Regions from separate parts of the Homo sapiens genome. Here region 1 is linked to region 2. The links are contacts of gene promoters, found by promoter capture Hi-C in blood cells and fetal thymus (Javierre and others, 2016). All regions are on one chromosome and are shown on one strand. Each heading gives the region's core, a stretch centred on a gene start or on the middle of the fragment in contact. The rest is flanking DNA. Distances are from core to core; before and after follow the strand shown. Region 1 overlaps LOC105376661 (a long non-coding RNA gene). Region 2 holds the start of CREB3L1 (cAMP responsive element binding protein 3 like 1).

Region 1 (2,700 bases), core at 84-2,583, 150 kb after region 2:
TCTGGAATTTCTGCTAACATACTAATTGTTATCTTTTTTCCTTTAACACTTAAGCCATTTAGCCCTTACAACAATCTCACAAGGTATTATCTTTATGTTTAAGGAACACCAGGGTTCAGAAAGCCTAGGTATTTTGTATAAGGCCACAGAGCTAGTGTGTGCCCACAGAGTGCCTGTGTCAAGCACACAGAGATGCTGAGAGCTTGAGAAAGACCCACCAAAGCTTATAATGCCAACCTCACAATCTTCAATCAACACGAGAGTCCCTGAATCCCACATGCACATCTGCACCATCAAAATACTGGGATGCCACCTGTTCACCTTCTTGAGTTATGTTAACTAAGAAAATGAATTTAAGGGCACAGTGAAAATGCATTATACAGTTCTATGTGCCAGGACTGTGCTAAGCACGTTACATGAATTATTTTATTCAGTCTTCTCGAGAGCCCTACTTAGTAGGGTTTTTGTTGTTGTTTTTGAGACAGGGCCTCACTCTGTCACCCAGCTGGAGTGCAGTGGAGCAATCTCAGCTTACTGCAGCCTCAACCCCTTGGGCTCAAGTGATCCTCCCACATCAGTCTCCAGAGTAGCAGGGACTACAGGTGCGTGGCACCATGCCCAGCTAATTTTTGCACATTTTGTAGAGATAGGGTTTCACCATGTTGACCAGGCTGGTCTTGAACACCTGAGCTCAAGGGATCCGCCAGCCTCGGTCTCCCGAAGTGCTGGGATTACAGGCATGCAACACCTTGCCCGGGGCTGGAAGTAGGTATTCTAAGCTGCAATTTACAAGATAGGAAAACTGAGGCTGTTAACAGAGATTAAGCAGCCTGCCCCAAAGTGCCTTAGTTGAAGGAGCAATACTTCCAGAGTATTTTTTTTCCATTAAGTTTGGTAGTTACAGGAGTGTTAGACACTCTTATATTCAGCTAAAAATATTTTAATTAAATATCTAGACAATGACTTTGCATAACATTGATTTTTGGTTGCTACCACACATCTTAATAACCAAGCACCCTTTGGTACAAGTTCAGTGGTTAGTCCACCTTAAGTCTTTTTTTATAGCAAGGATTGGTAAATGACAGCCCGTGGGCCCCATCCAGCTCACTGCCTGGTTTTGTGAAGTCCCCAAACTGGGAATGTGGTGCTTTTTAAAAAATTTTTCTTAATGACTGAAAAAAATCAAAAGAATATTTCAAGACATGTGAAAAGTACATTAAATCCAAATGTCAAGGCCTATAAATACAAATTGTATTAGAACATAGCCAGATTCATTCATTTACATGTTGTCGTATAGATGCTTTTGGGTTATAACAGCATAGAGTGGAGAAGTTGTGACAGGGACTGTATGGGATGCAAAATCTACGATATTTACTATCTGGGCTTTTACAGAAAAAGTTTGCTAACCCCAGTTCTATAGCATGATACAATTAGAGGTTCTGGATTTTTTTCTATGAAATTCCAAAAAAAATTTTACCTTCTTTTTCCAGAAAGAACACCAAAGCAGTCTTCCTATGAAAAAAGGTTGATAGCCTGGGATGATTTGAAATCACACCATTAGGTTATAGTTCCAGTGACTGGCCAGTGGGTCCAGCTTGAAAGACCCCCTCCCTCATTTTAAATACATTACAGTTAGCTCTAGATGGTAAAGCTGGGTCTTACTACCCAACCTGTCCTCCCGTTATTCATCTTGACTGCGTTATGGGTTTAGTTTCACAACATTATGAGTTCATCTAGGCTTCTTGAATCATTTATAGGAATTTTCATTTTCACTCTCAAACTCTTACACTTTCGCTGCTGTGAATTTTTTTTAACATAAAGCTCAGACTACTAAATGGCCTACACATGTACCATAAAGTCCATATTTTATTTTTTAAGAAATCAGAATTTTTAAAAATTGCTTTTTCTTGAGAAACTAAACTTAATTTTGCAGGTCACGAAAGTAAAAAAATACCTTCATATCCAATGATCTCAAAGCACCTCTTGTGAAAATACATAACAAGGTAATAGAAATATTATTTAATGGAAAAGATGTGACTAGTAAAGTCCAAGGCTATTTCTGGTTCTGCGAATGACTCACTTTGACTTTGGGCAAATCATCTCACCACTGTTGCTCTTTATCTGCAAAAACTGGATTTCATGCCTATGGGAGTTGCATGGCTAATCAATGCCTGGAAAATGCGTAGTGGCAGTTGCTACAAAAGTGCTGAGCTTTAAAAACAAAACCCCCCACCCCCCCATTTGTATTCAGTTGAGGTTGGGGTTTATTGTTATTTAACATTCGAAGGCCAACACTATGTTAAGTCCAGAGTGCTGCACAGATCAGATAATATCACTGTCCAGTAGGGGTTTTTTTTAATCTAAGATTTTTTACTTTTAAAAAATTTATTGTGGTTGGGGGTTTAGAATCCGGTAATACATCCATACAAAAACGTTAAGCTTCAAGTTGAAAACTATCGATTCGAAAATCTAAATAAACCCCCTCCAAAAAAAAAAAAAAAGGCCCTCCCCCGCCCCGCCAAGAAATCTCTCAAAACAAGAATTCTTCTGATGTTTTTCTCCTCCCTGCAATTCTCCATGTTACAGTCCTTGGAGGTAGAATAGGCATAAAATACTTTCACTAATAAAATATGACAAACCGCCGGATTATACGTGGCCGATTCCCAGTGATTGCCCTGCTACACAAAGCAGAAAAGTAAA
Region 2 (2,700 bases), core at 30-2,529:
GAAAGAGGAGAAAGACAAGCTCACAGTCGGACCTAGTCAAGAAGACATAGGGAGAGGGAGAAAGTCAGCCAGACTCCAGGAACAGAGGGACAGAGCAGAGATCTAGAGGCAGATGGAGAGAAATGGCTCCCTCCTCCTGAGCCATCACCCTATGTTGCCCTGACCGCCTCTTCCCAGCCCCCAGCCTCAGGTCCCTCCCTGGGGTGGGGGGTCTCTGGGCCTGATTCCCTGGGGCTGCCAGGGTAGCACCCTGAAATTTCTGGGCCTGGCTTCCCCGAGGGGTCGGGTCTCAGGCCCTCTGAACGTTCCCCGGTGCGCCCCCCAGCGGAGATCCAGCCTATGAGCCACCGAAGCCCCAAGGGAGGCGCAGGAAAGGGCGCTGCCACTTTGCGCCCAGTCTGGTCCTGGAACCTGGGGTGGGTTGGGGACGGCTAGAAGACGTGGGTGGAGGGCGGGATTGGTGTCTCTTGAGCTCAGATCCGAGGATCGGACGGACCCGATACCTCGATGGCCCCTTCCCCCTAGAAGGTGGAGGCCAGTGTATTCAAAGATTGAGCCCCCAGGAGGGGCGCTTAGCTCCAAACACATGTCGCTCCTGGAGACCCTGCGCTGAACCCTCTCCCCGGCTCCTGCCCAGTGATGTGTAGTCGGGTCCTTCTAGGGGCCCAGGCGCGCCGCGAGGACGGGTGCCGAGGGGTGGAACGGGAACGGAGACCCTTCATCTTACCGCATTGTTGAGGAAGTCCGACTCGTTCAGATCCCCCAAGTCCAGGAAGCTGGATCCGGGGAACAGCCTGTCGGCCGGGAAGGGTTCCAAGACGGCGTCCATCGCAGCCGGCTCCCGGGACCCCCTTCCACTGGGCTTCCCTCACTCCAGGGCGGCGGCGCGCCCAGTCCAGAGCTCCTGCCTGAGCGCTGGCAAACGGGCGGGGGGCAGGTCCGGGGCGAAGCCCCGGGGGAGGGGCGGACGGAGGCGGCGCGGCCCCGGGTGGGGGGCGCGGGGCGCGCGGGGGCCTTAGGGCAGCGGCTAGGAGCGGGATGGGCTCAGGGGCCCCGGGCGCACCGTGGGCATTCAGCCGACTCCACCTCCTCCTGCTCCTCCTGGGGCACAGCTGGCTTCCATGGGGAGCCCGGGGTTGGGGCTGAGGGCTTCAGGAGCCCCCCGGACAGGGTGGGAGCCGGGGCGGGGGAGCTAAGTGCTCCCCCGAGACTGGGTGGCTGCCGGCCTCTCCTCTGTCTCTGCGTCTCCCTCCGCACGTCTTCTGTCACTTTCCTCTCTGTGAAACCGGGAACCCCTGGCTGGCTAGCCCAGCTGGCCAAGGCGCCACGCCCCCACATCAATATTCACAATAATTTAATATTAATGAGAAGAGGGCGTGGCTCGAGGAATCCTCTCTCCTTTTTTAAAGAGACATCTGCAACTTCGTCTTAGTAATCTCTCTTCTCTGAATGCTCAAGGTGGGGGCTTAAAGCAACAATAGTCCTGGAACCGATAACAGTGTTCCTGGAACATTGGCATTTTAAGGCTTCACCAACCACTGTCCCGTAAATTGATGAGGGAGCTATTTCCATCCTTCCAGCCTTATACTAAAGCCTGCACGAAACCCAGTCAGGGAATTCCATTTCACAGTCCCCTCAACAGATCTCCCCTCAACGGGGGAGATTTTCAGCTTTTTAAAAATTTTATTTATTATTATTACTATTTTTTTGACACGGAGTTTCGCTCTTTTTGCCCGGGCTGGGGTGCAATGGTGTGTTCTCGGCTCACTGCAACCTCCGCCTCCCAGTTTCAAACGATTCTCCTGCCTCAGCCTCCTGAGCACCTGGAATTACAGGCGCGCCCCACCACGCCCAGCTAATTTTTGTATTTTTAGTAGGGACGGGGTTTCACCATGTTGGCCAGGCTCCTCTGGAACTCCTAACCTCAGGTGATCCGGCCTCCTTGGCCTCCCAAAGTGCTGGGATTACAGGTGTGAGCCACCATGCCCAGCCGATTTTCAGCTTGTAACTCTCATTTCTCATCTCACCTGTTTCTTCTTCCAGGAAGCCTTCCCTGAACCCCCAGGCTGGAGCAGTTACCAACGGTATACACCCACAGGGCATCATGTGCTCACCTCCACTGTTTCCAGTCTAATGTGGTATTGTCCTTATTTGCTCACATTGTTTGTATCTGTGACCCCACTGAGCTGTGAGGCTCCTCAGGGCAAGGACAGTCCCCAGCTTCCCTCTGTGTGAAAGGGCTGGGTGAACAGCCAGAGATAGGAGAGTCCCCCTCTTCTCCTCGATAGTCAAGTCCCTCCCTACCCCCCAATGGTTCTGAAGAGCAGGAAGTTGGAAAACAGTGGTTCTGGAATCTGAATGAGCCAAGGTGCTGGCTGGCTGCACACTCCACAGTCACCAGACACTCCCAGGGCCCCGGGATCCATTACCTAAGTGGCTTGCTCCTGCGTACAAACTTAATCTCTTGAAAGGGCTGATAGCAATCGCCAAGCACCTGAACAAATGGAGGTGGTTCAGAAAGGCACTCCCTCAGAGGGCTGGGCACACTGTTTCCTGACCAGAAGTTATTAATAAGATTAAGCATGTCCTTTCTGTCTGGGACGTTTAATTAGCTCAGGAACCAAAGGCCTTTAAGAGGTAGAGATGTCATTGCAGCTAAGCCATGGATGTCACCAAAATTGCTCTCAGCACCAGGTGGGA

The links. The method cuts DNA at HindIII sites, captures the fragments that hold promoters and counts their contacts. A CHiCAGO score of 5 or more calls a contact.
Region 1: a contact is called between a fragment that was not itself captured here and the fragment with the promoter of CREB3L1 in region 2, in 1 of 17 cell types (M0 macrophages). The highest score is 6.0, in M0 macrophages.

Annotation. Positions count from the first base shown.
Region 1 is chr11:46,122,553-46,125,252 of GRCh38, reverse strand. LOC105376661 (a long non-coding RNA gene) reads right to left here. Exons shown (of 3, transcript XR_931252.4): 1 at 1-2,700. Among named protein-coding and RNA genes, the nearest start is that of PHF21A, 2.4 kb to the right of the region's middle. The HindIII fragment of the contact is 2,216 bases long and covers 226-2,441 here.
Region 2 is chr11:46,276,241-46,278,940 of GRCh38, reverse strand. It overlaps CREB3L1 (cAMP responsive element binding protein 3 like 1), which reads right to left and starts at 1,279. Exons shown (of 12, transcript NM_052854.4): 1 at 728-1,279. The coding sequence starts at 829. The HindIII fragment of the contact is 5,299 bases long and covers 1-2,700 here.